5 separate regions of the Homo sapiens genome follow, and regions 1, 2, 3 and 4 are each linked to region 5. Evidence: promoter capture Hi-C in 16 types of primary human blood cells and fetal thymus (Javierre and others, 2016). All regions are on one chromosome and are shown on one strand. Each heading gives the region's core, a stretch centred on a gene start or on the middle of the fragment in contact. The rest is flanking DNA. Distances are from core to core; before and after follow the strand shown.

Evidence for each region. The method cuts DNA at HindIII sites, captures the fragments that hold promoters and counts their contacts. A CHiCAGO score of 5 or more calls a contact.
Region 1: a fragment that was not itself captured here is called in contact with the fragment with the promoter of NT5C1B in region 5 in 8 of 17 cell types (total CD8 T cells, activated CD4 T cells, naive CD4 T cells and 5 more); the score reaches 14.4 in total CD8 T cells.
Region 2: a contact is called between a fragment that was not itself captured here and the fragment with the promoter of NT5C1B in region 5, in 1 of 17 cell types (naive CD8 T cells). The highest score is 6.1, in naive CD8 T cells.
Region 3: a contact is called between a fragment that was not itself captured here and the fragment with the promoter of NT5C1B in region 5, in 9 of 17 cell types (activated CD4 T cells, naive CD8 T cells, monocytes and 6 more). The highest score is 12.8, in activated CD4 T cells.
Region 4: a fragment that was not itself captured here is called in contact with the fragment with the promoter of NT5C1B in region 5 in 2 of 17 cell types (activated CD4 T cells and total CD8 T cells); the score reaches 5.6 in activated CD4 T cells.

The regions. Positions count from the first base shown.
Region 1 is chr2:19,857,297-19,861,918 of GRCh38, reverse strand. No RefSeq gene overlaps it. Among named protein-coding and RNA genes, the nearest start is that of LINC00954, 9.2 kb to the left of the region's middle. The HindIII fragment of the contact is 2,179 bases long and covers 1,010-3,188 here.
Region 2 is chr2:19,879,348-19,884,059 of GRCh38, reverse strand. It overlaps LINC00954 (long intergenic non-protein coding RNA 954), which reads right to left. Exons shown (of 10, transcript NR_033875.1): 7 at 3,860-4,712; 8 at 1,325-1,445; 9 at 412-502. Among named protein-coding and RNA genes, the nearest start is that of LINC00954, 13 kb to the right of the region's middle. The HindIII fragment of the contact is 3,224 bases long and covers 583-3,806 here.
Region 3 is chr2:19,841,445-19,846,644 of GRCh38, reverse strand. No RefSeq gene overlaps it. Among named protein-coding and RNA genes, the nearest start is that of LINC00954, 25 kb to the left of the region's middle. The HindIII fragment of the contact is 3,629 bases long and covers 1,429-5,057 here.
Region 4 is chr2:19,818,735-19,823,691 of GRCh38, reverse strand. No RefSeq gene overlaps it. Among named protein-coding and RNA genes, the nearest start is that of LINC00954, 48 kb to the left of the region's middle. The HindIII fragment of the contact is 2,764 bases long and covers 1,063-3,826 here.
Region 5 is chr2:18,587,071-18,591,820 of GRCh38, reverse strand. NT5C1B (5'-nucleotidase, cytosolic IB) reads left to right here and starts at 2,252. Exons shown (of 9, transcript NM_033253.4): 1 at 2,252-2,382; 2 at 4,229-4,318. The coding sequence starts at 2,353. NT5C1B-RDH14 (NT5C1B-RDH14 readthrough) reads left to right here and starts at 2,252. Exons shown (of 11, transcript NM_001199104.2): 1 at 2,252-2,382; 2 at 4,229-4,318; 3 at 4,648-4,750. The coding sequence starts at 2,353. All of the region lies in intron 2 of LOC105373456 (a long non-coding RNA gene), which reads right to left. The HindIII fragment of the contact is 3,581 bases long and covers 1,385-4,750 here.

The DNA of each region.
Region 1 (4,622 bases), core at 850-3,349, 1.3 Mb before region 5:
GCTCTTCTAGGACACTTACATGTTCAAAGAGGAGTTTGTTAATTCCTAAAGAGGCCCTTTTGCCAAATGGAGATTATTTTGTAATGTGAATGTTTGTCCCCATTACAAGTCACTCAGTTAACAAGTTAGCATGTTTTCTTTCTGTGTCTCTGCTGCTGACTCAGGGGCCCAGGACTGGCTCTGGCTTCTGCACAGGCAGGTGTCCTCTTTGGAGGCCACCCCCACCATCCCCACTGACAGTGGTAGCCTGAGCCCACTTTCCCACTTCCCTCCTCAGTAGGAAGGACCAAGATGGGAGCCCTGCCCAGCACTCCCTGCCTCTTCTCCCCATGCCCCCATGGCTCCACTCTGGTTTTGTAAGAGTGGGCTTGCTCATTCGCTGTGATAGGGCTGCTTTTAGCCTCCCTGACCAGACAGGTTGCCCCTGGGGCTGAATATGTGGCCTCCTGGCAGTGGGGCTCTGTGGAAGTGCTGAGGCCCAGGAAATGTGGCACGGGGCACTACACGTCTGGCTTTAATGAGCTATGGCCTTCAGCTGTGGAAGGCTGGTGGTGTGGGGAACTGAAGAGTTCTGGGAGGAGGTTGGGGGCGAGGGGCTGCCTTCCAGGCAGGGTGCAGGAGCCTTGGAGAAGGTGCTAGAAGCTGGGGTTCCTGTGCCAAGGGCTGGGAAGGCAGGCAGAGTCCTGGTTGGTGGAGTCATGGATAGGGGCTGGGGTGGGTGTGGGGCTGGATGGTTTGTCCTGCTCCCATGCCAGCCTCCCTCTGAGTTTGTGGGCCCCTCCTGAAGTCTTGGTGTGCCTGGACCTGGGTTAAGCCACACTGCAGGGAGGTACATGTGTACAAAGTGATCTTTCTTCCAGAAGAACACAGTCTACGAAGGCATTTCTGCAAACTTGTGAGATGCCTGTGCACACCTTGTGGTGGCCCTGAACTGATGGCTGAGGTGTGCTATAGAAATTAGAGAAGGGAGGAAGAAGTTCATTGCCGGTTGAGCAGTTCAGGGAAAGCTTCCTGGAGGAGGCGGAGTTTGAGCAGGGCCAGTGGGGATGGAGGGTTTGTCCTGGAGGAAGGAGAAGGAGGGCAGTCAATGCAGGGAAATAACACACCTGACATGTACTCATGTTAGGGGCCACGTCCGCACCTCTCAACTCCCTTGCTCATCTCCAGGGCTTGCATCTGACTGAACTTCCCACTCTTCCCTCTCTACTCCAAGCCTCTCTGGCCCCCCACCTTTGCCCATGCCCCCATTCTCTCCAGCTTGTATGTGTATCTCACCCCCGCATCTTGTTAGCTCTGTATGCTGAAATCCTGCTAGCGTGTCCGGACACTTCTTGTTGGTTTCACCTTCCTCCATTTCTCTCAACCTTCCTCTCTGCACCAGAATCCGATCCATCTTCGCCTCACTTGGCAATTATAATCATTCAACCTCCCCCAAACCCTTGTTCATAGCCCAGCACACATCTGCAGGGCCCACAGTTTGCTGGGCATTGGGGGTGCACATTTTCTGCCTGCAGAAGTCCCAGGACTGGCAAGGTTCATACTGAGATGCCAGCCTGGGGACTCTGCCAAGGCCTTGGCAAACTTGTCTCAGCATCTCCCAGGCATTTGCCCCTTCCTGCCAGGAACAGGGCAGAGGCGGAGGTGACTGTTTCCCAAGAGCAATGGGCAAATCCATCTTGCTTGGGTTTATTCTCGTCATTTCCTGAAGTATTAGGTCACCCAGGTTGTTAGTGAGGACCTTATTTGGAGAGCCTGGCTTCCTGGTATGAAGTGGAGAACCTAGGAGGGGCAGGCCCTCTGGTCTTAGTGGCTACGCCATCAGAAACACAATCGTGTTTCTCTTTCACCGCAAGCACTGGGAATTGAAGTATGTACGGAAATACAATTCATAAATTGAGGGACTTTATTTTCACTGTTCCCAGGGTTTAATTTCCAGAAACAAAATGTCAGTGTTATGGCTGAAGTTCTCTTAGTTTTAGGAAACACATCATAACCCAGAATTGTTTATGCATAGTTCATGTATTATATGACAAGAACGGTTTTGAGAGTCATCAAGGGTCAGAGGACTGCGGTTACACGGCAACAAGGCGATCTGAGTGTGGTGAGTGTGGTGAGTGTGGGGATCCAAACCTCGATCTTACGTCTCCCCTCCCAGGAAAATCCCAGGGAGTGGTTGTTCTTCTAGAAGCCTGCAGCTGCGGGTAACCGGTTACCAGGGAGTGCGTGGACCTGTTGCTCACAGAGAGCCTGTGTGTGTGTGTGCATGTGAGCATGTACTTATGCGTGTGAGCATGTGTGCCTATGTGTATGTGCGTGTGCATGCACACTTGTGGTTAGTGTGAGAAAGAACACTGGCCGAGGCAGGAGAAATGGGCTACAGTCCTGCCCACCCACTTGTTACCATTGTGGCCGCTCCCCTGCGTCTGCAGTGTGGGTGCACGGATCCCTTCCTTAGAGGTCACCCAGCATTTCATGACATCTGTGTATTAACAGCAGAAGTGAAGGGGCTCTCGGGCAGCCTTGGGGATTCTGGAAATGCCCACTGGAGGAGCTGAGGCTTGCTGGACACTGGGCGTGTGGTCCTTGGATCTTTCCCAGTGGCGCCATGGGCCACGGATTCCGGCGGGGCTCAGGATCCAGTGGCTCTCCTACCTCCTTTTCCTTCACGTGGGTTGTTGGGCCCCTCCTGCATGCAGCGCAGCCAGGTGGTGAAGGTGAGAGCCGCTGCTGTCGCTGCTCCTGGCCTGTGGGAGAAAAGTCCCTCCAAGGTCACCTTTGTAGCTTGTTCATGAGCAGAGCATCAATTGGATCTAATATTTTTACAAGATGCCCCCCAAATAAAGATCAGCATTTGGCTCAGTTCATTTCAGCAGAGGGCTCAGCTTTGTCTGCTGCCCTGTGTATGGAGGGATAGACAGGAAGCGCCACTTCTAGAGATAGCTCTGGCTGCTGCCTCTCAGGAATCCTGGCCTGGGCGGCCTGACGGGGCTACCAGCTTCCCTCCTGAGGATCTGTTGGTGGCTCACACCAGGTAGGTTTAGGGGTGAGGGCTGGGCGCACCTGGCCAGGGCCTCTCCGCAAGTGCAGAGCCCTTGGTCCATCTCGTGCCTCCACTGGGATCCCCGTGTCTCCGCTTCTGCCCTGTTTCAAACTCCAAACAAGATTTTCAGATGGCAGAAACTGAAGCTTGGAGGAGAACAACTTAGATCAAGTTGACTTAGTGTTTGCTCTCAGCCAACGAAGCCCTGAGGCTGCCTTCCTCAGGGAGCTTTGCCCACATTTCTGAAGAGTGTGCAGGGCACGTTTCTGGAGGACAGAGCCTGCATTTCCAGACAATGGCTTTCAGAGGATGCTCTCAGGTCTCCCGTGTGCCCTGCCTGTGGTTAAGTGTCTTTCTGCTACATAAACAGCTCAGAGACTCAACTCTCCCGAGACCGAGACCGGAGAGGAGCTCTTACAGTGGTAAGAATCCACCTTGCCTCTGGCAAAGTTGCTCTGGATGAGGTTGATTGAGCTGCATGCCTCCATTCCTTCCAGAACAATGTCCCTCCTCACCTACATCCATGCCCAGCCTTTGGAGCCAGGGGCCCCACAGGTGCTGGTTGCTGGGATAGATAAGGAAAGCCTCAAGCCCCTTCTGAGACCCTCCCTACTAGCCACACATCGGAAGGAACAGAACTTTGAGCTCCCTCATCTGTAGCCGAACCTAGTGTGAGAAGGAGGGTCAGAGGAGGCGAAACTTTGAAATCGCAGGGCCACTCCTCTGCCAGCCCCATCGGCCTCACTCTTGGAGACTCGGGGATGAGTCACTGCTCTGACAAGCGGGTCTTGAGGACAGTCCTTGCATGCACAGCTGATGGGGAAGGTTCCCTGCTCAGGCACCGCTTCCTTCCTTGAGCAGAGCAAAGGGCCATCCTCACAGAGAGGCTTGCTTCACCTGTCGCGTGTGGCCCTGGGACTCTGGAAGCTGCTAGTGTTGTGGTGGTGGCTGCTGTCCCGGTGCGGCAGAGGACACAGGAGGCACGCTCCTCCCGCCAGTGGGGAATTGCAGTGTGTTACGTGGCACGAGAGACTCCAGCGCTGTTCTGAAGATGCCAATCCATGCTTGGGTTGTTTGGATTTGCTGTTAATTTGGGGACTCTGGCTACCCCGTCAAAGGCATGGAGTGTGCAGTTTTTAATAATTGTGATCCAACCATGCCATGATATGGGCTTTCTGGTTTCCTGGACACTGGGCAGCAGTAGTTTGAAGTTGGGAGATATTTACTCTGCAAAGCATTTTTCCAAATGTTCTTTAAGCTGATGCTCCCAGACTTTCATCAGGAGCCGGGCAGTATCGCCTCCCCTCCCCGACTTGTTCTTCTGGGGTCTGATGGAAGGAGATGGGGTCTGGAGGCCTGCAGGGGCAGGGAGCCTTGTTTTACTGCATGGGAATGTTGCTGAGTCTATCTTCCTGATGTTGTTCTTACATTATTTCCTCTGGTTGGAGTGAACAGGGAAGTGGGGGCACATCTGTGTTCTATGAAAGCTGACCTGGAGCTCCCCACGCAGCGGGGTCCACCTTAACTTCCCTTTTGCGGTTGGAGTCGATAAAATGGGTTATTGAGTTGTCCTTGTGATGGG
Region 2 (4,712 bases), core at 945-3,444, 1.3 Mb before region 5:
AGATCTATGTTCATATGACCTCTATTCTAGGACTGTCTCCTAGAAGGGTAATCAGACTTGTTAAATGTTTCATAAAATGCCTGAAAATTATCGTAGCCAGACACTAGGCAAGTGTGATGGGCAAGAGCCAGGGGTTTTTGGCCAAAGAGCTCTTAGAGCTCACTCAGCTCTGGAGGAAAGGCCTCTTCAAGAGTTCCTCAGGCTGAGATGTAGGCATGACATGCAGAGTGCTTGCTGTTCAGGGACTTCTGCAGGAGGGTGCCATCTGGTCAGGACTTGAGGCAGCTTTCAGAAGGGTGAGTTTGTTTGGAGGGATGGAGGGGGAAAGTGCAGAGAACTTTATGGGCAGGACCTTTGGGGCAGAACTTCTCAGTGTTGCTACTGGACACGTGGCTAGGGGCCTGCTCTTACCTCCTTCTCTCTCCTCTGGATAGTACTGGCCACCACAATGCCCGTCAGGGTCCAAGTGTAGGCAGGATTGGGTCAGGTGGTACAGATACACCTGAGAATGGAAGTGGGTGAATAGCAGAAGACTGAGCATTACAGCAGGACAAACCTTAAGGAGCCAAGGATCTGGAAGCTTCCACAGCATCTCGAGCTCGGTGTGGGCAGAGGCCATTCTGTTCTAGCAGGAACAGAAGTTCCTGTCTCAGGGCCTTGGGAAACCAAGAGTGACCCAACAACAATTCCTTCCCACCCACACTTTTTCCTAAGACAAAAGCCTTATGGGACCTCTTCCCAACTGGCTTTAGTAAGAGGGCAGGCTTTCTTCAAGGAGACAAGAGGAGGAGAGGAGGAGTTAAAGTGTGAGAATGGGATGGGGAAGATAATGAGCTTCCTCCTGCATCTAGGCATGAAATGGGATTATTCTGAGGGTGTTGATCAGGAATGAGTCAGTTTCGTTTCCTCTTAGGAAGTCTACTTATTGAATGCTTTATCAATACTTCTAAAGTCTTCAGTGACTTTAACGTTAATGCTCCATTTTGCAGAAGGTGGTAAGGTTCAAAAAGGAGACATGACCTGTTTAGGTCACAGAGTCAACAACTGTCTAAGCAGAGGATCAGCTAGGGTCCCACTCATGCTAGGCTGCCCTGTCCCCACCCTCCATGCTTAATCTGGTTACCAGTTGCCATCTGTCAGACTTGACTTCTAAACGTTGATGCCAAGTCACCAAGCAGGACATGTCATCCAGATCTCTTTATAAAAGCCTAGGAAGTACTTGGGACCTGGGGCTCCCAGGGACTTTGCTCAGTGTCCCCATACTGGCCATATAAACAGGAATCTAGGTTCCTATTTAGCCCTTTCTGGTTCTCTGAGATCTCACCTCTTTGAATCTGGGTGCCACAAACTTCACCAGCTTCTTGACCAATGAGGGGTATTGGACCTTCTCACCCTGGGAGACAGGGTAAAAGTCTACCTCTAGCAGGTTATTCTCTTTTTTGCAGCTGTCAGGAAGAATTTGGAGACAAACAAGGAGTGAGGCACTCTGGAGAAACCTTGTGTCCATTCCAGTAGTTATCTGAGGACTGGTGAGGACTGGCTGACCCTTTCTTATACATGAGGAAGTATGAGTAGGACTGGGGCGGGGGCTTGAGGCTGTTAGAAGTCAGGGGAAGTTCCTAACTGAGAAGCTGCACAGAAGTGATGGAAGTCTCATTTGGTAGACTCAGATCTATTGGGAGATTTGGTCCTGTATTAGTCCCTTCTCACACTGCTATAAAGAAATACCCGAGACTGGGTAATTTATAAAGGAAAGAAGTTTAATGGACTCACAGTTCTGCATGGCTGTGGAGGCCTCAGGGAACTTACAATCATGGCAGAAGGCAAAGGAGAAGCAGGCACCTCCTTCACAGGGTGGCAGGATGGAGTGAGTGCAAGCAGGGGACATGTCAGACACTTATAAAACCATCAGATCTCGTGAGAGTCACTATCATGAGAACAGCTCCGGGGAAACTGCCCCCATACCTCCACCCTTGGTCCTGCCCTTGACAAGTGGGGATTGTGGGGATAATTCAAGATGAGATTTTGGGTGGGGACACAGCCTAACCATATCAGGTCCTCACTTTGGGGATCTTGCTTTAGCATGTAAGATATTCTTACAGAATCTTGGGCTATATCTGGTAGGACTGGGGTTCTGGTTCTGCCCTCTCAGCTGCTAGCTGAGGATATGTACCTATTTATTATGTTCCACTGGGGGCTGCCATCAAATTCTGGTGACTCTGACACCCAACACTTGTCCAGGAGTAATTCTGCTGAGGCATCTGCAAAGCTCATCAGTTCTACCTCAAAGAGTGTTGACTATGGCTGATTCACAATGGCCATCTCCCCATGGTGAAACTCAATGAACGACTCATCTTAAGAGAGGAAGGGCTTGGTGAACTCATGGACAACTTTCTTCTTCTGCCCTTTGTCCCCCAAAGTATACTCCAGAACACCCTTACCTTGAGCTACTCTTGCCTGGATCTCCAGTGTCTGTCTGCTCTCTCTGAGGCCCTGCTGAATGAGAGAATGTCAAGCTGAGGGCACCCAGGCAGAAATACTCAAAGTTCTCCCTCTGTTCCCCAGCCACTCCTTGACCTCGGACCTGGGACTGCCATACCACCATGCCATCTCCTGGTGGCAGGACAGCTTTCTTCTTCCACCTGTCCTTGTGCCTGTCCTCTTGGGCCAATGTTTCTTTAACTGAGTAGTAGCAGAGCAGCATCAGCCTAGGACAAGCATGGAGGCAAGAGCAGGCTCACTGGTTTGTAGAACTGCAGAGCAAGAAAGGACTTGAAGGAACTCTGGTTCATGGACAAGACAAGGCAAACAGACTCTGTACCAGGGAGGCAAAGAGACTTCAACGTCTCAACTTAGGAATGACAGCATTGGGGCTTGAGGCTGGAAGAGATAGCCTACTATCTGTTCTGCTGGTCTTCTCCATTGGTTGGTGGGCTATGTGCATGGTGGATCATGATTTAGTTATGCAATGATTTGTTTCTAGCAACACTGCTTAGTCTATCAAAGAAGAAGGTCTGTCAGTATTACTCCAATTTACATCATACCTCCAATATAATAAGTATTAGGTAAGGAAGTAAAATAGGACCTAAAAAATGAAAAAGAGAACATGGAAACTGAAGCATTTTGGGGCACTGTCACTGATGTTTTGAGTTCCTCCTGCTGCAAACTATACACTGGCATTCTCTTCCCTAGTCAGCTGGAATTTCCTGAGGACAGGGGTGGGGACAACAGTGAGATGAAGCTCAGGGGCACAGCTGACTTCCATTCATACAGTGGCCATCTCACCTGTAGTCTGGATATCTTGTAATTGTGGGCCAGCCCTTCATAGCAAGGGTTCCTTCTCATACATGATTCCCTTTTCATATATAATATAGTCACCTTCAAACTACATAACCCAAGATTTTAGAGCATATGGAGAACATGGGTGATACGGTTTGGCTGTGTCTCCACCCAAATGTCATCTTGAATTGTAGCTCTCACAATTCCCACATGTTGTAGAAGGAACCCAGTGGGAGGTAATTGAATCATGGGGGCAGGTCTTTCCTGTGCTTTTCTTGTGATAGTGAATAAGTCTCATGAGATCTGATGGTTTTTTAAAGGGGAGTTTCCCTGCACAAGTCTTCTCTTCTCATCTGCTGCCATGTGAGACATGCCTTTCACCTTCTGACATGATCATGAGGCCTCCCCAGCCATGTGGAACTGTCAGTCCATTAACCCTTTTTCTTTTGTAAATTGCCCAGTCTCAGGTATGTCTTTATCAGCAGTGTGAAAATGGAACAATACCACAGGACTGAGAAGAAAAAGCTTAGATGGTATGCTAAGGCCTGGCAGGAGCAGGTGGCCCTTTTGCCTTACTCACCCTCACTGAGGTACCACGGCTGGTGACGTCAAGTCAGAAGAAGGTTTGGTTGCTGCTAGACTCTGTTGGCTTGCAGGTGCAATCCTTCAGTGTGGCCTTGCACATGTCAATGGAAGGGTCTGTGGCCATCATGGAAGAGATGGCCACAGTCCCACTAGGGAAACACACTAGGAACACAACCATAGTTCTCACAACCATCCTGTTTCCAACCATATTTTGATCAAAGTCTGTTCTCTATTTTACCTGGCAGTCCTTGGACGAGGCTGGGCTAAGCCTTTATGCTGCTCCTTGAGGTAGGACTTGGCTCCTGACCCCAGGGCTTTTCACAAGTTACCTCAGACACACCCATTTAAAATGCATTTTTAGGCCATCAAGTAGGTTGTGGATAAATATTGGAATTTGTTCATTTTTATATGTATTATTTGAGGGGCTGAAGGCAAAACCTGGATACTATCTGAGGCATGGTGATCAGGTTGGGGGCCCTGCCTTCAAGAAAGTCAGCTCAGAAGGGAAAATAAAGACAGTCAAGGACAAGTAACTAGTGCAAGGCAGAAAATGGTTATGGCTCTGATTATGAGAGTTCAAAAGGAAAAAGTTGGGGGGAGAGGGAGGAACCAGAAAGGAGATCCAGTGGTTGGCAGGCTATGTGGTTATAGGAGAAACAGCATTTGAAATGGGCTGTGAAGCCTGAGACTTCACATAGGAGGCGAGGGGGGTTAGTTTTCCCATAGAAGGTATGGATGTGACACACAGCAGTGTGAGCTGGTCTCGATCATCTCCCCAGGGAGTACAGACCAGTCAGCCTGGAAAGATCTCACCAAGGCAGATGCACAAGGCCTTCTTCATGCAGGAT
Region 3 (5,200 bases), core at 1,994-4,493, 1.3 Mb before region 5:
GGTGTTAACTCCTGGCTACAGTGGAGTTTGAATTGACCTCAGGACTACGTGTCCTGAAAGCCTGTGCTCTCAGTTGCTGGACTAGCCTGGCTTCATGGCCCAGCTCTGCACTGCTTTGAACAGGACTGCCTTCTCCTCTCTGAGCCTCTGCTTCCCATTTGGAAACTCATATTGGACCACACCCTTTTCAGAGCCATCATCCATGAATCTCACCCCTGAGTTTTTCTGAGAGTGAATGTAGCTGGAAGGTGTTTAGGGAGGCAGCAAGCCCTTTCCGACTGGACAGCAGCATATTCTGGAGCTTCTTGCCTGGGAAACAATCAGTTGCTGGGTTTGACTCTTTCTGCTGTCACCATCAGCATGTTTCCCAATCAGGAAAAGAACTTCAGCTTCCCTGTTGGCACTGCGCCACCTCCCTAAGCAAGGTGTCTCTGGGGAATGCCTTGGTTGGCTTACCCTTTGGTGTTCACAGTGTTGGGTATAGACTGAGCCCCACAGAGCCCTAGGAATCCTCTGCCAGCGAGGCTGTGTCCCCAGGACAGAGCTGATGTGCTGATTTGCAGCCTGTGAGTGGAATTGTGCTAGGCTGGATATGTGGGGTGCAGACACTCGTGGATGGGACAGAAGATATACTCAGGCAGGTCTCTGCCAGAACTCAGGAAATATGGCCTCTCATCAGCTCATAGAAAAGAATATTCTTATGAAGATCCTTTGGTGGAAAATACATTTTGGTGCTAGATTCCAGTGGGTTTATGCTTTTGCTGTCTTTCAGTGTGTGTAGCAAGAGCCTGTGCACAGATTCAACATCTAATTTACAAGGAGTTTGGAAGTCCAAGATGTTCTAGCTGTAGGCAGAGACTGAGCTCTCTGGATGTGCCTCTCCAGCATGCGGGGACCATTGCCTCTGTGTGTGTATGTGTGTGTGTGTGTGTGTGTGTGTGTGTGAGCACATGTGTGCCTGTGTGGGGAGATGACACCCATAGGGGGCTGGTTGTGTGTGGTCCTGCCCATATTCTTATCTATACCCTTGGGCACACATGTGTCCATCACACCTGGGTCCAGTGCCAAGACTTCCGTTCGGACTTTGGAGCCATGTGTGACCACATCTGTGCCATGTGTGATCCTCAGTAGAGCTTTCTTCTGGTTCAGTGGGGAGATTGTAACCCAGCAGGAACAGCGCCCTGGGGGTGGCTGCACAAGTGCTTCTGCTCTGGGGCCTCCCTCCTGGCCCCCTGCCAGCCCCAGTATGGAGGGGAAGGGGCTTTGAAAAGCTTCTCGCCTGTTAGCTGTCCAATATGCTTGAAAGGATACCAGCCTAATGAGTGAAGTTTTAGTAAATCAAGACCATGTGGTCAGCTCCCCCTTGAGATGCTCCTAGTTTAAGAAATTGGTGGGTGGGAAACATTTTTGGCAATCACCCCTGAAGCTTCTCTTATATCCTCTTTCTTTTTGCTCTTCAACCCCCAAATCCGAAAGAATCATATGGTTTATTTTTAAAACAGAAACAGCCCTGGATTGCCCGGTCTCCAGGGGCAAGAACATCTCTTCCCATCATTCAGGTCTAACCTGGGGACAGAAGGCAGCCCTGGTGTGAGGGACAGAGGCTTGGGGTCAGGGGTGGTGGAAGACGGGGCATCTTTTGTGCTCATAGTGGGCCAGATGACATGGGGAATCCCAGCGTTTGCCTGCAATGCCTTGGAAAGAGCAAGCTGGAGCCCAGAGAGGTGTGGGAATTGGCTCAAGGTCATCCAAGGAGGCAGCACCAGGGTTGGCTCCTTCGCCCATGCCTCCTGCTTCCAATTTGGGGTTCTTTCTATTGAGAAGTCTCAGATTTGAACGTTGGGGTGGGGTTTGAAGAAGAAAAATCTTAGAGAAAGAAGAGGAAAGACTTTAGATTATAGAAATGAGCAAGGGAATTCCGGGATGATGGGAGAGAGGAAAGTATGAAGGAGCAGGGGAATAAGCTCATCAAGAGTGAGAGAATTGTGTGATCAGAGCCCACAGGGCATGGCTGCAATGCAGTGAGTCAGGAGTGTTTGGATCAAGCCTGCCCCACATTGTAATTCCATAGAATGGCTGTTTCTGAGGGTAGGAAGCCTGCAGGGGTCTAAGGCCAGTGTTCCATGGCAGTTTATATTGCAGGGAGCCTTGGGGGCTGGCACTCAGGTTGGGGGAAATTGGTGTTGTCAGACAGATCTTGCCTTTGCTCCCCATCCAGGAATACACTTGAACTTGACTGTGGATTGGGCAGAACTGGCAGTGTGAACTTTCACACATTCCTGACCCTTGCTAAACTGTTCATGGCTCTCCAGCAAAGGCATGGGTGAGCAGGGGGAGCACCCTGGTCCCCTGGGCTTGAGTCTGAGCCCCACTACCTTCTCACCCAGTGACCACTGGCACATGTGTTCCCTCCCCCAGGCCTTCCTGTCCTCATCAGTGGGTGGTCTCAGCACTTCTTGCCCTTCTACCCATGGCGGGCCCCCTTGTTTGTGTGTTTAGCTCGCTCTTCTCTGTTCTTCTGGCAATAGTGCTCCCTTCTTCTCCATGGATGGCCTCTCCTCCATGTGAATTGAGTGCTCCTCATGGAGGCTGCCAGCTGTACTCACTCTCCTCCCAGCCCTGCTCATGATCAGAATGAGGTCAGTGGTCTCATCCCACTCCTCTGGCCACAGTCATTTTATAAGAGAATGTCAGGAAAGAACATGACCAAAATTGTTCCTGAACATATAAGACACCCACTGGTGAAATCTTCACTAAGAAATAAGAGAGAGAGACTTGGAGGGGTGCTGAGTCCATGTGCAGTGCATGGAAGCTAAGAGCCTCCATTGTGCTGTTGTTAATGTGACCAGATGTCAACCCATGGGCTGGTGGGGACTGAGAGGGTATTGAAATACAATAGGGTTGCATCTACTTGGTAACTTTTGCTCTCCAGGGAGAGAAATCCCAGCACAAACCAGGGTAAGCAAAAAGAGAACTTATCAACTCACTTCTCTTAAAAGGCAGAGGTTGGGCTGGTTTCAGGTGGCACTTCACTCAGTCAATGTCACCAGGGTCTAGCCTCTCTCTCGTCTCTCCCTCTTCCTCACCTTCAACTCCACTTCCTCTGGATTGACTCCATTTGGAGGCCAGATCCGTCTCTCAGGGTACTAAATGGCAGCCTTAGCTCCCAACCTGATATTCCCTCAGATTCAAGTCCAGCAGGAAATATTAATAGCAGCGGTCTCTTTCCCAGAAAATTCTGCCAGTGTCTCATTGCCTCTCATTATTTCTGACTGAGTCCCAAATTAATTGTTGTGACTGGGGAGCTGTGATAATCTAGTTGGTTTTTAGGCTTACATTATAGGCTCCAGCCCTAATTATGGTGAGAAGCTCCACCAAAACCTAGGATCTAAGAGTGGAGGAGAGAATACATTTATCAGCAGAAGGGTGAGTAGATCCTCAGAGGCAAAGGCCACAGGAGTCTCTCTCAGAGACCTTTAGCACTCAGCAAGCTGCCCACACCTCAGAGCCACTTTCACATTCTCTGTTCATCGTCATGGACACTGTAACTGCTATGAGGTGATTCAACACTTGGTTCCAGTGGGAAAAGGAATGACCATTAAAGAATGCCAAAAACTATTGCTGGAGATAGATGTATAGAGAAACTGGGTGGGTTAAGAAAATGAGCGTTTGAAGTTTTGGACAAATTAGAAGAAGGAATGTTGAATTCAGCAGGGACTCACTCCAATGGTGTAAATGAATTTACCAGGAGTTCTATAAGAAAACACCAGGCATCTCCTGAAACCATTTTAACAGCTTCTCTAATGGTTCAAAATGGCTCCCCAAATGAGAGAAAACTAATGGAAGTTGGAAAAACAGTTACCTGTGATTCAAGAGAAAGCCTGGATCTGGTACAAACATTTGAATTTCCTTGACTCTATAGTTCATAGACATCTAAGAGTGCATCGCTTATGGAAGTTAAGGGCCCACCCTTCTTTCTGCCTTTTCTGCTGCAGAAGCAGTCTTGGTATCACACAGGAACGTAGGAGACTGTGATTTTTGCATGTCCAGCACCTCGTTTTTCTACTTCAACAAGCAGCACCCCAGCTCTCCTTTGGGCGAAATCCCCTTCCCCCATGCTCATTTCATGCAGTTCAGGTGGGACCAGCAACCGACCCCCACCCACCTGTAAGCTGCTCCAGAGTGAACGTGTGACCCAGGGCTGGCCGATCTGCTTATTCCATCTCCCTGGTCACAGTAATTGGTTCAAGAATGGGCAGATGGCTCAAGTCAGTGAATCAGAATCAATCATGGAACTTCTATTGGAGCTATGAGGAAAGGGCCATGAGGGTGCTAAGCTGGTAGGATGTTCACTGAGAGCCACTGGTGGAAGCATTGCTACTTCAGACAGAGCCTGAGAATGAAGGCGACACAGAGACAAGCAGCGCCAAAGTTTGGTGAGAGATACGGTCCTGTCCACAGCTTCTGAGGGCCTGAATCAGCCATGCCTGAATTTAGACCTATCCCTAGAATTTTCAGATACAGTGAGTTCTGTGTGTGGGTTTCTCCTTCTCCTCCCTTTCCCCTCCCCTCCCCTCCCTCCTTCCCTTCCTTTCCTTTCCCTTCCCTTTCCTTCCCTTCCCTTCCCTTCCTTCTTTTTCCTCTTACCCACTCTTATTCTTCTTTCCTTCCCTCCTTTTTCCTCTTCTTCTCCCTTTTTTTCTTCTTCCTCCTCCTCCTTCAGCCAGTTTGATTCATTCATTTAATAGATATTCACTGAGTGACCATTATGTGTACCCTTCAGTGTTTTTTCCAGACCATCAAATGTGACTTGGAAGTAATACAACATTTGTTATTTATGAAGACTTTTTTCATCCATTCGCTCATTATACCCCTCCTAGCAAACTGATAAAGTGTGTTACTTAGAACTCTGGCTACAAGTGACAGAGATCCAGAACCCCTGTCTTGGGCTGGAGGGAGAGACAGTCACCATACCATTCCCTGGTATGGTTCCCATTCCCCTCCTTACACTATCTGTCTCCCCAGGAGTCTCTGCATCCCTTCACTCCTAAAAAGCTTCCGTGTATACCAGCTCATTTAAACAGATTCCAAGAGCAATGACCAGACTTCTACTCATGTGGCCAGAAAGACTGTGAATTCCAGCTTGGCTTTAGTTGGGTCACCCTATGATGTTATGCTGTTATTTGATGCAATGACAGTG
Region 4 (4,957 bases), core at 1,195-3,694, 1.2 Mb before region 5:
GAACTCAACTTGCAATATCTCTGAGGTATGCTTGTAATGCTTTTGTAAGTTCATTTAGTCAAAAGTGAAACAGATGAAATAAATGTTAAGACATTGAATATTGGAGATTTTCTTCAATGATAATAAAAATACAAATTTTGGTAGAACACAGTGTTATAGAGGAAATAACTTTCTTACTAAATTAAGATATTAATAGACTCAGAATGTACTTGAAGTTGGTTGGGTGCACACATACTTAATAACTGTTTCCAAATGTCGTTTTTTTCCCCCATCAGTTGAATTAGAAAGTGTAGTTGTAAAAAATTAAGTAATTTTATATGTACTCAGAAAACTGAACTACAAAATTTTGTGACAAAACTGATTTTGAGTGCGAAATAATAGTTTAGCATGACAGTATACACTTTTCTCTTTCCTGCCTATTATCAGTCAGATTTTAGAAATCTTTGAATTTTTGAAGAACTACTTTGTGAATCAACTTGTGTCTTAAAATGTTGTAGAGCTTTTGTGTAAACAAATTCTCTAAATTTTGGTTCATTTTGTTTAAAACCAGCTGGAGATTTTAACCAAAATTAAGTAAGTGATTCATCTTAAGACATCAGCTTATGAATCTTTTTTTGAATTGTGACTACTAAAAACAAGCCCTGTAAGTAGGAAGACACTGAGATTTCTCTCTACAAAAGCAAGGGAGAAGCTGAAAAAAAAAATCACAAGAGATAAAATGGTGTGCCACACTTAATATTCAAATTTTCTAAGTGCTTTGGAATATCTTGATTTATGGGGTGAATCTTGTGATGGTGCTCACATGGTAGTTCAGTAAATTTGTATTCCGCAATGTGGTGGAATGGAATTGAGTAGGCCTATGATCTCGAACATGTAAAACTGGTGAACCACTCAAAAGAATCATAGAGACAACTTATTTGACATGTTTTGGCAAAGAAAACTACTCTGAGACAAAAGGAAAGTATCCGTGAAAATACTTGAAGTGAAATATTTACTCTTTTCAAATATGAAAAATAATTAAAATGGACAATATCCTCAATTTCACTAAAATTTCCCCAAGCTTTCCAGATATCTCAATACCAGGAGGCAAAATGTTTTCTCAATTAAAAAAATTGTGCTCTACAAAGAAGGGCCAATTCAAAGAATCGATGACTTCAAATATATGAATCATAACATGCAATTTGAAGAAAATTGCAGGCAATTTTATGGCAAAGTCTAAAATGATAAGATCAGCTTGAAAAAATTACAATCTTCGAAAAATTTGGTGATACAATATTAGAGGGTGATATGTCTAGGAAACAGAATTAAATATGCAAATCCATATCAAACATAAATTATTCTCTTTACATTATTTTTTAATGTTCAGATGATCAACATAGAGATTAAATTTTTAAAAAAAATTTCAATCTGCATTTCTTTTATTAAGAATGAAGTTGGGCATTTTTCATATTGCTTAACTATATTTCCTTGTCAGTGATTATTTATTTATATTCTTTCAGTTTTTCTGTTGAGTAGAAAGTCCTTTTTCTTCACAATTTCCAAAATCTCTGTCTCTTTTCCTAGTTGGAAAAGAAAGGATAATTTTATTTTATTTTATGGGTTTAAAACTTTTTTTTCTAACTTTTATTTTAGATTCAGGGGGTACGTGTGCAGGTTTGTTACCTGGGTATATTGAGTCATGCTGAGGTTTGGGGTGTGAATGATCCAGCCACCCACATGCTGAGCAGAGAGCCCAACAGTTTTTCAACCTTTGCCCCCTCCCTTGCTCCCACCTCTAGTAGTCCCCAGTATCTATTGTTGACATCTTTACAACATATTTTTTTGACTTGATGTACACAAGTCTATATTATAGTTTTAGAAGAAATTTTATTTACTTTTTTTTTTTTTGAGATGGAGTCTCGCTGTGTCACCCAGGCTGGAGTACAATGGCGCGATCTCAGCTCACTGCAATCTCCACCTGCCGGGGTTCAAGCCATTCTTCTGCCTCAGCTTCCTGAGTAGCAGGGATTACAGGCGCCCGCCACCATGCCCCGCTAATTTTTGTATTTTTAGTAGAGACAGAGTTTCACCATGTTGGCCAGGCTGGTCTTGAACTCCTGACCTCAAGTGATCCGCCCTCCTCGGCCTCCCAAAGTGCTGGGATTACAGGCGTGAGCCACTGCACCTGGCCAGAAATTTTATTTTTGAAATTAGTTTTTGAATAGAATAATTTTATGGTCTATCAATAAAATAATCAATTTGCAAGGCAACACATAAATCTTAAGAAAATTATTTAGTTTTTCTTACTGTTAGATCCTCCTTCCACTCTCAAAAGTGTCCCAATTTGAATGGTATATTATATGGTTGTGCTTGCATTGTGTTTGCCATGAACAGAATTCATGAATATTCTGGTGTTCCACCTTTCAGGTGGATGGTAGTTTTGTACTTCTCTGCTCTGCTTGTAATCAGTTATGGCCATATGACATACTTGGACCAGTGAAAGGTGAGCAGAAGTAATGTGTGGCATCTTTAAGAGCCAATGCATGCTTACCCTCCCCTTTCTGCTGCAGTGATCATGGAAGCATATGTCAAATAGAAGTTTATGTCAGGTTGCAACCTCTAATGGTGATGGCCTGGAGCATAGCTCCTAGCAATGCTGCATTAGAAATAAATAAGGGAGTGTTGTAAATAAATTCACACATTGATCTTCGTGTTGTTAAACCACTGAGATATTGGGATTATTTATTATGTAGCAAAACTTCACCTACCCTCATTGATAAAACTTAAAAAATTAAAAAAAAATTTTTTTTTTTGAGACAGGATTTCACTTTTGTTGGCCAGGCTGGAGTGCAAAGGCGCTATCTCGGCGCTATCTTGTCTCACTATAACCTCTGCCTTCTGGGCACAAGCAGTTCTCCTGCCTCAGCCTCCTGAGTAGCTGGAACTACAGGAGTGTGCCACCACAACTAGCTAACCCAGCTAATTTTTTTGTAGAAACAGGGTTTTGTCACATTGCCCAGGCTGGTCTTGAACTCTTGAGCTCAAACCATCTGCCTGCCTTGGCCTCTCAAAGTGCTGGGGTTACAGGCAATCGTGCCCGGCCTCATAACACTTTAAAATAAGTTAATCTATTAATTAATAAATTTAGACCTCAACTGGTCTCAAACCTGGGGCAGTTTATAAACAGCAAGATACAATAAAATATAGGGGGTTGGGCAAAGGGAAAATAGGGGTATGAAAATAAAAATGTTGGAGGTAAGATTAATCCTCAAACTGCAATCCTGTGTATGCATTCCCAGCGATGGGCCACCAATTAGTCTATAAACTTCTTAGCAGCAAAGGCAAATAGGGAAATCTGAGCAGTAGCAGCACCCATAGGATAATAACAAACCAGATTCTTAGGAAAAATCTTAGACAACAGTGGGGCAATGTGTCAAGAACTGGATGGCTTTCCTTCCAAAACTCAATCGGAGTGTCTCCCAATGGCTCTTTCTCACACCAGTTCCCAGTGCAAGCAGGGGCCACAGTGACAATATCCAAGTCAGGAAAAAAGAATGGGAGGTGGTGGTCAAAGGATACAGGCTGGACAAACAGCTTTGACGACCTGGCCGAATTTAACATGAACATTCCAGAATCTATAGCATGAGTGGGTGTCTTTTAGTCTATCCTTCCGTAAATGAGTGAATGAATGAATGAATGAATGAATGAATAAATAAATAAATAAATAAATAAATAAATATTTCCTGATGCGGCCTCTTTTAACAAAATTGTCTAGGAAGGAATTTGGTTATATTCCCTGGCAAGGTCCTGGGGCTGAATCAGACCTGGCTCCTACCCACCAGAAGCTTCCCCTCCAATGACAGGGCAAGATACATAGACAAACACCCATAGCATGGAATGAATTATGGGAAGAAAGCCCTGTCCATGCAGTATGCCCTGGGGGCCCTGAGAAGTCATGATGGCTCTCATGAGTGGTAACTGAGTCATTCCCCAAAAGGGACATGATTGGCCCTGGAGGTCTGTGTCTTGGCAGCTATTTAAGGTGTCTGAGTGCTTGGCATTGCTGTCTGTGAACAGCTTCATATCCAAGGACCATCTAAAAGGCCTGAGGGAAGAACATGCTGTGTTGAATAAGCCACAATGGCAATGAAGCCAGCTGTGCCTAGGCAGCCACAGTGTCCTCAGTGAGCTCGAGGGAGGAACATCAGCCAGGGCTGGATGAGGCCTATGAACTGATGACCTCAAGACTGGAATGTTTGCAAGAGTCTATTTTTGTTTCAGATAAAACCAGAAACAATGAGCCACTTGGGGAGCCAGCCTCCTGGAGATTGATGGTGAGGGGGCGAGCTGAAGCTCACTGGGGAAGTATGTGTGGCTCTCCGCTCACCCATATATTTCCCTGCAGAGCAAAGGCTGGGTGATGACTAGAACAGGGAAATCCAGTTCAGGCCAAGGCAGGGTCTACAGAGGCCGGGTGCTCTTTCACAAACACATTCAGTGTCTCTATCCATCCCTTCATCTATGTATGCCCCTCCACCCCGGAGCTTCACCTAGTACGCAGCTGGTGTCTGGTCCTGTTCTTGGCTAAGAGGGTAAGACAGGAGAAGGTATAGGCCTTGTTCTCAGGAGAAGACCCCCCAGGCAGAACACCACCAAGGAAAGCACCTGACCCAAGTGAGAAGCCATTTGGAATTCAGGGTCCTGGAACTTCATTCATTGCTAACCCACCCTAATCAAGGAAAAACAATGTTTTCCCTTTAGAAGGCTTTTCTTCATCAATCCAAGAGCTGTTGATGGAGAAATCTGTGTGCCTGGCTCTGCACTTAGCAGGGTGTGTGGGTGGGGAGTGAAAGGGAGCACCTCTCCAGCTAAAGACTCTTGCATCCAGTTCTCAGAAGAGAGTTAGAGCACTAATTCTGGAGGTGGAAACCCAGACACCATTAATCACCCGAGGACTGCCTGTCCTCCATCACCTCCC
Region 5 (4,750 bases), core at 1,003-3,502:
AGTAACTATTCTAGGCAAGAAGAAAGCAGCAGTAGAAAAGATGTATAGGTCGCTTCTCACAAGCAGTTTTCGCTCCAGCGGGACCAGAAAAGACAATAAGCAAATAAACTCTTGTGAAACAAAGTCAGGTTGAAATAAATGTTATGATTGAAAATAAAGGGACATAAGGGTTAAAAGATGAAGGAAATGAGGTATCATTTTTAGTGACAGTCAGAGAAGTCCTCTCTGAGGAGACTGCTTGAGAGCAGAGTTAAAAAAATAAGGAATTAAGGCACGTGTATATATGGGCCGCTGCAGCAGATGGAGCAGCAAATTTAAAAGTCTTGCGACAAGAACATGCTTAACCCATTACATGGCTTGGATATTTGTCCCTTCCAAATCTTATGTTAAAAGATGACTCCCAATGTTGGAGGTGAGGCCTAGTGTGAGGTGTTTGGGTCATGAAGGTCAATCCCTAATGGATGGCTTTGTGCCTTCCCATGGTAATGAGTTACGAGGATATCTGACTGTTCAAAAGAATCTGGGACCTCCTCCCTTCTCTCTTGCTCCTGCTCTTGTCGTGTTACACATTTGCTCCTTCTTTGCCTTCTGTCATGATTGGGAAGCTTCCTGAGGCCTCGCCAGAAGCACATGCCAGCACTATGCTTCCTGTATAGTCTGCAGAACTGTGAGTCACATAAACCTCTGACTCAGGTCAGTTCATGCTTTTGCCTAGGCTTCCAGACTGTGGAGGAAGGGACTCCAGCCCACAGCCCTAGATTTGGGATGTCAGGCTTCCCTAAGTGAAGTCCTACCCATGAAACCTATAACAGAAGCCTCTGCTCTCTCCCTCGAAGGAGTGCTAAGAAGCCATAATGAGTTTATAATCCTGAATAGTAGAAATAAAACACCTAATTACAATGAGATGAAATTCACATTAGCTGCTCTGGCCCCAAACACAGCATACTAAGAAAATAAAGATGCTCTTGGTACTTAGGGGTGTGATTTTAATAGAAAAGGTAAGGTTCTCTGAAGTTACTCTGAAACGTATAGCACTTACAACTTTGATTGTCTACATAACTTATACAAATATTACACAATAACATCATAACCATGCAAAAACAAATGACCCCTGTACAAATTTTGGGTAGAATGCTGGGGGTTGGGTGTACAGTGGGGAGTAGGGGAGAGATGAAATAACTTAAACCCAGGCACTCTTACCTACAGCCTGAATGTTTTACTAACTAAAAGACTCCTTGGATAACTTAAATTAAAACCATCAACAACTTCCGATATTCAACCTTAGCTATCAACTTGTCCCATGAAAACAGGCTGGAAACCTGCCTCAGTCCTTGATGATTTCACCAGCTCAGGTTGGCATGGCACATGTCTCCTATCTAAAGCTTGGGTGAAGATAAAAGGAGAAAACTAAAATGGAGAACATGTTTAGATTCTGTAAACCAGAGTTAGGGGCTACTTTTTACAAATATCAATTCTATTTGTAACTGTATGTTTCCTGTTACTTGCCAAAATGAATCACAAACTCATTTGTGGACCCAATCATTTATCCATGTTCACTCTCCCAGACTTTGGGGGGCTTTCCTCAGATCTGGAAACTATTTTTGACAGCTGAGATTTTGTTCTAGACATGGAGTTTAGACTTGAGTTTGAGTTTAGCTTTAGTGTTTAAAGGGTTAAGGATGGGGCAGCCCAGGGTTAAGGGTTAAGGATGGGGCAGCAAAGGTAACATTCTACACTGAGTCTAGCCATGGGGAAGGGGCTTTGACAGTGTCTTCCTCAACAGGTTTTGCCATTGAAAGAAACATGAGACATTAAAGCTAAACTCAAACTCAAGTCTAAACTCCATGTCTGGAACAAAATCCCAGCTGTCAAAAATAGTCTCTAGATCTGAGAAAAGCCCTCCAAAGTCTGTCTGGCAGAATGAACATGGATAAATGATTGGATCCACAAATGACTTTGCCATTCATTTTGGCAGTACCAGGAAACAGACAGTCACAAATGGGATTAATATAATGAATGGCAGAGAAATGCTTAAAAAGATTTAAAAAGGAAGTGGTAATATTGATATTGCTACATATTGAACATTTGAACAATGTTTAGACATCAATTTCTGAAAACAAAGACAATGGCTATGAGCAGATACACTCAAAATGAAGAAACATTTATTTTTTGTTTTTTAAGAAAAGGTTAATCACATATTCATAGAGTCAGTTTGTTACTATGGAATCACATATGATGTCATAAATTTGACATTCTAAATGCAAAGCTAGACTGAGCAAGGGAAGTGACAGGAAATGGAGCTGGGGAGACAAAAATGTGGATAACAACAAAAGAATTTCAACAGGTAAAAAAATGAGTCAAACATCTCTCAAACAGAAAAAGGTGAGTGAACCGAGTGTCTTAGAATCTTGCCATGGGGCTGAAGAAATGTGGATATCAGTCCATCATTTGCCTCTGCAAAGGCTCTGCAATGATCAAATAATTTCAGATAATGGCTTCAGGTAGAGGAAAAGAGAAGGGAGAGAATAAAGGCAATGGAAAGAGTACAGAAAAGGGAAGAAGGAGAAATTTAAAAGAAATTAAGACAGCAAAGAAAGAGATTAAAAAACGTGTAGTATATAAATGATTCCAATAAGTCAGTATTCATTTAGCATATACTCATATGTTAGTAGTAAAAGGTAAAAACAGTGGCTGTCTTTGAAGAATGCATGGCCTAGTAGGAAAGACAATAGACAAAGGACAACTCATTGCTCCATAAAAGTATGTACAAAAGACACAAGGAACACAGGGCAATATTTCACTCTGGGAACTTCCCCCAGGTCACACTGAGCTGGGTTTCGAAGAACACAGGAGAGAAGAGGAGACCATAAGGAAATAAGGCTGGTGTATGCAGGCAAATACAAGTCACTTGGTATTAGTAGAACATAGTGATAAAGTATAGAGTGAAGGGCATGCAAGTAGCAGGTACACAGGAAAACATCATGAGGCTCCTGGTCAAACCAAGTGAAGAAAGTGTTTATCCAGGAATGAAGCATTACTAGATTTACATCTTGTAAATATTACTCTAAATAAATACGGTGGACAGATCTAGAAGTGGAGAGGATTTAAGGCCATGAAACCTGTTTGAAAGGCTATATTCTGAAAATGTAGTCCCAGGATGGTCAGAGACCTGGAACAAGGCAATGATAATAGAGATAGAAAAAAGGAACTGGATTCAAAATATCATTTGGAATTAGAAGTAAGAGGTATTATGGTGACTGCTATGTATGTGTATAAGGTGAGTGAGGGTTGATGAAAAGATTTTAAAATTAGTTCAGGAGTCATACAGCTATGCCATTCTCTCATGCAACTAACATTCTCATGCAACTAACATTGATGAGATTTTTCCTGCATGCAAGACACAGAGCATAAACGGATGAATATAGACTGCTCTAGTGGATCTTGGTCTAACTTAGAAGTTGTGCTCCTTAAACATATAAATAACACTAATCTTGATCACATTGCAGCTACTTACTTAGCATGAAACAGTTCAAATAATATTCCAATAAGTATCTCCTCCAAATGAAAATGAAAACATAAATATTTGAGTAGAGTTCCATAAAGTGAGTCATCTTCTTGTGCTCTTTTACTTGGTTTTCCCTATCTGTTGTTAATTTGTTGGTAAGAAATCCCTTTCCACTCTAGATCTATGAGTAATTAAATGATAGGAACAGAAGACATGACTTTCAATAAATTTGTATGAGATTAAGGTCCTTATATTTAGAAATCAAACTAATATTGGTGAGGCTAGAGCCACAAAAAGTTTGAGCTGTAGTGATGATGAAAACAAGAAAAAATTGAATTCTAAATGGCAAGGAAAAGTAAGTTCCATAAGTAGCAATCTTCAGAGTAATAGAAAAAAAAACAAACTTATTCTACATAAACAACTTCACAATTCTCTAATATTTCCCATGTTATCAGTCTTTAAACAATAAATGCTTTATATCTCAAATCTATGAACCAACAAATTTCTATATTAAAACTTGTTTATATAATTCTTTTTAATAAAATATGTGTTACCTTTTACTCATGCTTGTTAGAACAGGGGAAACTAAGGTCTAGAGTTTATACCTTTTTATATTGGCAAATAAATAAATTTTGTGTTTTCTTTATCCTTTTATTCTGAAAGCCAAAGTTCCTAATGCCCTGAGATTAAAAATTAATAAACATTCTTTGTTTCCTTGTCAAGAATGAGCCTGGAATGAGGTCCTCAAAAGAGAGTCTAGAAGCAGAAAAAAGAAAGGAATCTGACAAAACAGGAGTTCGTCTGAGCAATCAGGTGAGCTGATCTCTGTAGCAGAGGTGAGGAAATTAAGGAGCAGAAAGCATAATGGAAAATGTTAGGGGGCAGGGAGTTCTGGGAGAGAAGACCAAGCTGTTGAGAATTGTATTAAGGCGTCCCTAATGTCCTCATGAGAAGGTTAAGGAACTAGGAAAGGTTGGGCCCTGCCTTCCCCTCCATCCATACCCTAGTGTTCACTTCGAATGTGTGGAACCACAGCAGGCTCCTCTGCTCAGCCTACACAGGGGGGAGACTGGTCTTTGTTCAAATCAGGGAGGGGAGGGGGTCTGGCCATGGCATTGACCACTTTCTGCACAATCTTTCAGATGAGGCGTGCAGTCAATCCGAATCACTCGCTGAGATGTTGCCCCTTCCAGGGTCACTCGTCGTGTAGACGCTGCCTTTGTGCAGCTGAGGGAACAGCCCTTG